Linked DNA regions of Homo sapiens: region 2 is linked to region 1. Evidence: promoter capture Hi-C in 16 types of primary human blood cells and fetal thymus (Javierre and others, 2016). All regions are on one chromosome and are shown on one strand. Each heading gives the region's core, a stretch centred on a gene start or on the middle of the fragment in contact. The rest is flanking DNA. Distances are from core to core; before and after follow the strand shown.

The links. Contacts are between HindIII fragments. The CHiCAGO score rates a contact against its expected background, and 5 or more counts as called.
Region 2: a contact is called between a fragment that was not itself captured here and the fragment with the promoter of RALGAPA2 in region 1, in 2 of 17 cell types (naive CD4 T cells and naive CD8 T cells). The highest score is 8.4, in naive CD4 T cells.

The regions. Positions count from the first base shown.
Region 1 is chr20:20,710,977-20,715,097 of GRCh38, forward strand. It overlaps RALGAPA2 (Ral GTPase activating protein catalytic subunit alpha 2), which reads right to left and starts at 1,668. Exons shown (of 40, transcript NM_020343.4): 1 at 1,399-1,668. The coding sequence starts at 1,504. RefSeq lists a silencer at 1,559-1,818 and enhancers at 1,810-2,104, 1,929-2,128. The HindIII fragment of the contact is 11,955 bases long and covers 1-3,590 here.
Region 2 is chr20:16,727,197-16,731,218 of GRCh38, forward strand. It overlaps SNRPB2 (small nuclear ribonucleoprotein polypeptide B2), which reads left to right and starts at 2,830. Exons shown (of 7, transcript NM_003092.5): 1 at 2,830-2,968. RefSeq lists enhancers at 1,941-2,809, 2,868-2,917, 2,968-3,087 and a silencer at 3,238-3,287. The HindIII fragment of the contact is 864 bases long and covers 1,703-2,566 here.

The DNA of each region.
Region 1 (4,121 bases), core at 418-2,917:
GTGCATGGTATCTACAGGAAGTAGAAAATTCAGTTTACCAAGAACGCCACACTTCACTCTCCACACTTCACTCTCAAAAGTCTTGAAAACGAATCCCTGTAACAGCAACTAATTTACATTTCATTTCAAACTGAACAAGTCAGTGTAACCTCAAGGTATGTGAGATTGTGAATAACTTCACTTGGCAAAATCAGGTGTGGTTTGGTTTGGCTTGGGTTCTTCTCCCCCTCAGAGGTAGAATATAAATAGAAATAATCAGCAACTTCTGATCTCATGAACAAGATCTTTATTTAAAATCTTCACACGTTAAATCATTTTATGCAATATTCTTTCAAGTGACAGACACATTAGCACTAGGCGATTTTTGTGAATTTTGGGACTAAAAGACACCTGGAAGAAACATAAGGTGTTCTTTCCTTCGCCACCAAATACACAGGTAAGTGTGTCTATAGATAGCAAAGGTGTTTTCATCCCAAAGAAAAGTTAAGACTTAGGATGTAAAAAAATACAGAAAACAAAACATAGCCTAGGCGAACCAGCTACAGATCACATGCAGCAGGTGACAGGAAGCCTTGTGGACACCTCACACCCACAGGGGCGAGCTTCATCACAGGTCAACTCCAAGCCCACCTGAGCTCCTCAGAACCTCCACCTGGCAGGCCATAAACCAGAAGGTGGCAGACAGCATCACTGTCATGCCGGTAATAAAGGAGAAGCAGCCTCCCTGAACCCAAGAAAACCACCCCTCTCTCCAAGCAGGAAGAGAAGGCCCCTTCACACCAAGGACACAAAGAAACTGAAGCAGCCAGACCCAAAATAAAAATTAAATTTAAAAAGCAGCATGGGAAGACAGATGACAAATCTGTGCTGGGATCGCCTGGAATCTCGGTCTATATGGGGGTCTCACACTCAAAAGTAAAAATAAAATTTAAAAGGGGGATGACAGAGATGAGAGCCCAATTAGGTCTGTGCTGGGTTCACTTGGGGTCTCGGTCTACTTAGGGTCTCAGACTCAAAAATAAAATTTTAAAAATGAAAGGGGGAGGTGACAGTTCAATGTGTGCACGTGATGACCACTTGGGATCCAGTTCACTTGCTGGGAGGACAGGGGACAGGTACCTCTGTGCCCGGCCTCCAGGTTCTCCGGGAGCGCAGGCGCCCAGCGAGAATCTGGGCTAAGTTTAACTCGAGGGCGACGGGAGCAGTGCCCGAGGGCCAGGCTGCGGCTTTCTGGAAACAAAGCCCCGGGGGTCCAAGCCCAGATCCAGGGAAGGGGGTCGGACGCCCACCCATCCCCCTCCCCAGCCTCCCAGCCACCGACCCCTGCACAGAGGAGCGCCCTCCCGGCAGGTGCCCCTAACCCGGCGCCCCGACCCCCGCGCCCGGCGCGCGCCTCACCCAGCAGCGCCCGCAGGTGCTTCAGGCGGGTCAGCACGTCCTTCTTCGGGTCCAGCACCTTCTGGGTGGACTTCTTCACATCCCCGTGGCTCCTTCGGGAGAACATCCCGCGGCAGGAAGCCCGGGCCCCGCCGGCGGGGCAGTAGGCGCCTGCGCCACGCGAATCAAAGCATAGGGTCGAGGCCGGCGCGTGTCGCGCGGGCCACTCGCCGCCCCCAGCCCCGCTGCTGCCGCCGCCGCCGCCGCCGCCGCCGCCTCAGCTGTGTCTCCAGGAAGGAGGGGCGGGCCGGTCACGGCGAGGGGCGGGGCAGGAAGGCGGTGTCGACGGGGAACCGAAGGCCCCGCCCCGCGGGAGGTGCCGGCCGGCCCCTTGGGCGCTACGCACGCGCACACAGGCCGAACTCTCCTGGCGGGACACTAGCCCGTCCGCGCCAAAACCTAGCGGGGACGCGCTCAGAGGGCCGAGAAGGCGCCTCGAATCACAAAGGAGCTTCTCTCACGCACACGTTGTACTACAAGTCCCGAGATGCACCGCGAGACAGTCCTCCAATCAGGCTGGCGGTCTTCGGCACGATGGGAGTCAGTGGGCCGGCATTGGGCACGTCGCCCCGCCCTGCCGCGGGCCGCAAGTGCTCCTGGGAAATGAAGTTCTCCAGCAGGCGACGCGCTGCGACCTCTTTTCCAGGGTCGCAGAAGCGCAGGGCGGCCTCTGTCCGTCCCCTGCCCCGGCAGCCTAGATCGCCCGTGGTTTCACTCTCCCTCCTGCGCGCCCACCCCATTTTCCTCTAGTGCAACGTGAACCACACACGCCCAAAAATCTCAGTAAGAAAAGTGTCAAGGCTTTTCAAATGCAAACTATTTTTAGGTTTAGCTTCTGGATTCACACAAGGGAGCGAGTCGAAGCCCCTCTGACCGTGCCGAAATCGCAGCTCTAATTTCACACTAAAATGAGTTGCTTTGGCACTAGGGAAGAGCGTGCCCCGGTGAGGAGTTCAGCCGGCCCCTAGGTTCCTGGAACCCAACCTCACTTGGGGTATGGAGGTCGCTCGCTCAGAGGGCTCCTTGGGATCTTGCCTCTTTGTAGGAAGGGTGCGTTCTCTGTTGTGCAAGCCACATGGCGATCCAGTAGCAGAACCAGAAATAGAACCTGAGGGATCTGACTCAGGCCTGTATACTTTTTAAAGCCAGGCGCTTATTCCCTGGGGCAAGACTTTGAGCTGAAAGATGGTCAGGAGATTTCTTACACTGTAGGATTGTATAGTGGCATCCGAATCCTGCAAGTTTTGACATCCTTTCAGCTTTTTCAGCAAGTACTTAAGGTAGAATCACGTGGTTTCCATCCAAATTGGGACAACACAACTGTCTTTTTCTCCTCTAGCTGAACTGTAACTTGAGGGAAGAGACAAGGATTTACACGCCTTTGTATCCCCATCCCTCAGCACAGTATTTGGCCCATAGGGTCACTCAATAAAAGTTTATTAAATGAAATACAATAAAAAGCTAAAGTAGTCCTACATATTTCAACCAGGCAGGCGAAAAGGAAAAAATAAATAAATAAACTCACAGTTTTAGAGCGTCTCTCTATTTTTAGATTTGTGTAATATTCCTTTGTATAGACACATTCATACAAAGGAATATTACTCAGCAATAAAAAAGAACAGACTACTGATAAACCCAATAACATGGATCACTCTCAGACCCGGAGATGAAAGCCCCATGCTCAAGATGATGGCAGAGCGGCCCTACCAGCCTGAGTCCCCAGATGATAACAGATCAGGACCACAAACTTCTAAAAGTGTAACAAGAGAGCAAAATAATGTCTTATCTTAAGTCAAGGCATTTTGAGAGTCTTCGTTACAGCAATTGAGCTTGTACCTGATTACACATAGTAAACCACAATGTTCACTGTCCAATTCCTTTAGGAGAAGATACTTTTCCTTACACTGATTGAAAAAATAGAATATACTTGTCTTAGGAAACTCCATTTTTTTAATTGCAAAGCAAGCTGCCATCATCATCAAACATTTATTGAGCACCTGCAATGTGTAAGGCATGATTCTAAACCCTGGAGATAAAAGATGTATAAGGTGCATCCTCCTGACCTCCAATGCTTCCAATCCAGTTAAGGAGGCTGAGCGATTAGATACATGTGGGAATAAATGACAGTGTACAGTGAACATGTGATACTATCAAGCTTGGTAATGCCAGAAACAGGCATCTGTGCATATAAATTCATCGCACCCATCATATCTAGCCTTTACCCAGTAATGAAAATGTAGAACTCCAATTCTTCTCTTAAAAAGGAAGAAACATATAGTATTATTATGTTGGTACTTTTTCACCCACTTGCATATTCCATATGGCTCTTCTTATTTTCTGTTGTTCTTTCTAAACTCGTTCCTGCTGGGCTGTGAACTCTTTGAGGGCTTCACTTGCTTTGCACTGAATTCTTTATCCCTGGAGTTATAGAGTGCCGAGTGTTATGCAGACATTAAGTGTTGTTGAATAAATGTCCTACAGTAATCAGCAAATAAGAATAATGAGATCAAAAGTTTAAAACTTGCAATGCAAATTAAAACTACTCTGAAATATCATTTGAATTAGAAAAAACAAGCAAACAAAAAACCTCTACAGAGACAAGGTGTGATAACACACTCTAGTCTGGTGGCAGAGCTATAGAAAACATAGCTGGTAGAAATGTTAGATGCTACAACTCTTATGGA
Region 2 (4,022 bases), core at 885-3,384, 4.0 Mb before region 1:
CAACCTCCCTGGAAAACATAAACCTGATTTGGTGCTCAACAATAACGCCTAGATTTGTTTAATGCTTGTTGTGAAAATAATTTCACTCTAGATACATTTCTTAATGTAATCACCACCTGGGGAGAGAAAGAAGATACAAACGAATTGCCATACATTTTGTGACTCTATGTAACATAAATAAGACAAAATTTATCCACCAGTTTTATGGTGCATTTTCCTTTATACATGGCTCCTTCTTAAAACTACTGCAGCAAGATACCAAAAACAATTAATGAGAAACATAAAACACGTGCAGATAAGGTAGGGAAATGTATGTGTATTCAGAGTCACTAAGAGACACCTCAGTTATCTTCCTTATAATTTAGACATCTTGGCACAGTTTTATTCCCTACTGTTTGTAGTAATTTTTCTGCTACTCCCAAAATAAGCAAGTTTTATCATCTGCAAATACATGACACTTGGATAGGGTGGTTATAACGCTGCCTCCTTGTTTCTCTCGATTAAAAAAAGCCTGTTTCACAGGAAAATAAATCACGATACCTAACCCAAATGTGAAAGAACAGACTGAGCAGAACTAACAAAACTCATTTGCTCTTCTAGTTTTTAAAAATGTGAGTTTTGGACATCTGATTCCTGATCTCACCCTCAAGAAGTGGATCTGGTTATAAAGTGATGATGTTTTACAGTACATGTGACCATAGTTTAGCTGCTATAATATTCTTAATATAGTTACATAGCCAGGCTATGCAAGGTTTCTCACAAAACCAGAAAAGCTATTCGATCCTTATCATTCCCTTCCTGTACTGTTCTCAATAACTGGCTTCTCAAATCGTTCAGGAAACCACTGAGAATCATTAACGGGTTATTGGAATGCCCAGAGTGACTGCCCAAGGACAGGAAAATGCACTGGCTCTTTTTAGAAGAACCTGGAAAAGTGCATGCAGACCATTGCGGCTGAGTTGGCAATGGATGATTTCCTTCTCACAGTGTAATGTACAATAGCTGTAATTTAATTGTTAATAGAACACAACATGCAGTCTGTCTTCAGGCCTCTGTGTTTCTTGTGGTATTTTCTTCCCAGGTTGGAGTGTTTTTGTATAATCACATCTTATTCTCTTTTAACAGTTATCAACTCTTGGCTAGATCCCCTTATACAATACAGAGTATAGTTTATTCTCAGTAGTGTAGCCATCCTCATTATTATCAAACAGAACTAATTGCTGAGATGCTCATAGTAATATGCAAAACAGCTTGTCCTTTGTTATTTAGAAATTGTTTATATTAAGTTTATATTCTCTTTTAATTTGTTAAAGATATAATTCTTTGACTGAGATAGGACATTTCTTCTCATTGGTTTATTTATTTTAGAGATGAGATCTCACTATGTTGCCCAGGATGATTTTGAACTCCTGGACTCAACCAGTCCTCCTGTCTCAGCCTCCCCAAATGCTAGGATTACAGGTGTGAGCTACTACACTCAGCCATTTCTTCTAGTTTTAGATCTATATAATAAAACGATGCTTTTCTGTGATCCCTTAACATTCTCTACACTCAGGTGCATGTTCAAAGCATATTTGTTTTACTGTTGCCTAGTTTTCCATGTCATTCATTGAATTATCCAATGCATATTAATTATCAGTCACTTTTCCCATTACTAAGGGTACTTGAGTGAACAGAGCAGACAAAAACCCCACCCTTAAAAAGCTTATATTATTTTCAAGTTGTTGCAACTTTGGGTGTTTTTAAAAAATAAAAATTCCCAGCTGATAAAACCAACTTATTTGACAGCTACCTGCCTCACCAGTAGAACCAAGTTATAGCCAGAATTCAGAAATAACATTTTTGAGCATTTATTGTGTCTGACAATGTGCCAATCACTTTACATTTATTTTAGCTCATTTAATGCTTACAACAACTAGAAGGAGGTACTATTAGGATCCCTATTTTACAGATGAAAAAAGTGAAGGTCAGAGAGATTAGTTAAGCAGAGGGTACAAGATTAGGTTCCAGTTGACTCTTAACAACCATTTCATATTCCAGGTGATGCTTTACAGACATCTGATGAATGGATGGATGAATGAATGCATGCACTTTGGGAACTCCCATTCAGCTTGGCATAAATACTAACTCCTTAGAATACCCTAGAAAAATCTAGACCTTTTGTTGGAAGAAAAGAGTGGGAAGGGTGGTAGGGAATTATTTTTTCGAGTGAATTGAGGCAGATGATCTTACAGATGACTGGGTTCTAGTCAGCATGGTTGCCTTATCTGGTGAGAGATGAGAATTGGGCAGACACCAGTTCTGTCTGCCCTGGGCCCTCAAACTGAGTAGCCTCTGAGATTCAAGTTCATCAGCACAGTGTTGGAGGACAGTTCCTGCAGAGCCCCATGAATCAGAGGAGACTCGGAGGCAGGAGGAACTGGCTATCCTAAAGGTGATTTTAAACCGGGGTAGCTAGAGCCCAAAGAAGGGCGAAACCAGGACTAACTGCCCCATAGCATGAGGGGCAGCGCCTGTAAAATTACATAGGATTTGTAAAGGTGGAAGGCACTGTTGCGCCGGGTAAAGCTTCGCAAGGTCGTGGTAGGGGAAATGATTCACTCCCCTTCACTATTCCCTCGCAGCATGGTCCTCACAACCCCCTTCTCTTTCCCCATTTCCATTTCCGGACTCTTCTCCTGCCCGCAGGGCAGACGCACGCGCAGAGAGATTGCCAGCCCTGGCTGCCAGAGACCCGGAAGCATCGATCGGCTCTGTGCTCGGCTTCTAGACTTGTCGGCGCTCGATTGAGGAGCGTGGCTACGTTGCTTCCGGTGCCTGGCTCCGTTTCCTGCTTTTGGTTCTTACAGTAGTCGGCGTAGGCCTTAGGTGGGTTCGTGCGCCTTCTACCTCGCTGTTTCGGTTTTCCTGGCTCCTCGGCCCTTTTCTCCCCTGTTGCAGCTGGGAGCGGACGAAGCGCGAAGCTGGGGTGGGTACGCGTTTGGCCCGGGTTTGGATCTCGGAGGGGCAGGCTTGGGGGTGAGGAGACTGACTCTGGGGCCGGGCATCGCGTGGCAGCTCCCTTGGACTTCGTTAGGGGGCCTTGGGCGAAGGTGCTTGTGTCTGGAGAGGCGGGAGGCTTGCGCGTACGAAGTAAAGGATAGTTAATGTCAGTCTGCTCGTGCGAGGCGTGGACAGTTCACTGCGCTTTCAGGTGTCTTCCAGCGGCTCCCTTTTGGTGGTGGCGGGTAATTCAGGGTGTCCCTGTAACAACGCAGCCCACGATCAAACCTCGCATGAAACCCTGCAAGAGCCTCCCCTTTGTCCCCCTACCTTCACTTTGACCTCTGCCTCAGTCACTTCCCTTTCGTCGTCTCCTTTGCGACCCCTGCCCCTTCTCCAGATTTCGATTTAGGGGGTCGCAAGGCTTTGAGAAGCGTTACGTTTTACCTGTTACCTGCACAAGTGCAGCCCCTGCTTGTAGGCTCTTCCCTTGTCAATCATCCAATGCAGTTCACATACAGTGGATGCTCTGTAAATACTGTGAGATAAAGGAATATGTGGGGCACACAAGGAAATCATCCAAGTTCACAATTTGCAAGTAAAAACCATGTAAAAAATGCAATAGTGTGGTATATGAGGAAGACAAGTGTAGAGGAGAAAGCAAGGGCTGAATTTCCAGGCCTGATGCTTATTAGCTGTGTGACCTTAGGCAAGTTCCTTACCTGGTAATAGCTGTTAATAATAGCTACTCTTAAGTGTTTACCGCTGATGCAGAACTGTGCTAGAATTCATTTAGTCTTCTGAGTTCTATTGGGTAGGTTCTGTTACCATTCTTATTTTACTGATGAGGACCTGAGAGGTTAAGGAACTTCCCTCAGGCAAACAGCTAGTAAGAAGCATAAATAGGATTTGAATTCACATCTGGCTGATACTGGAATCTGAGTTTAATCGTCATGCCACACTGCTGTCATTGAGCTCCTTTCTTTCAAGTCGGTTAGAGATAACCTTGGAGTCCAGACAGCTTGGTGATGCTGTATACA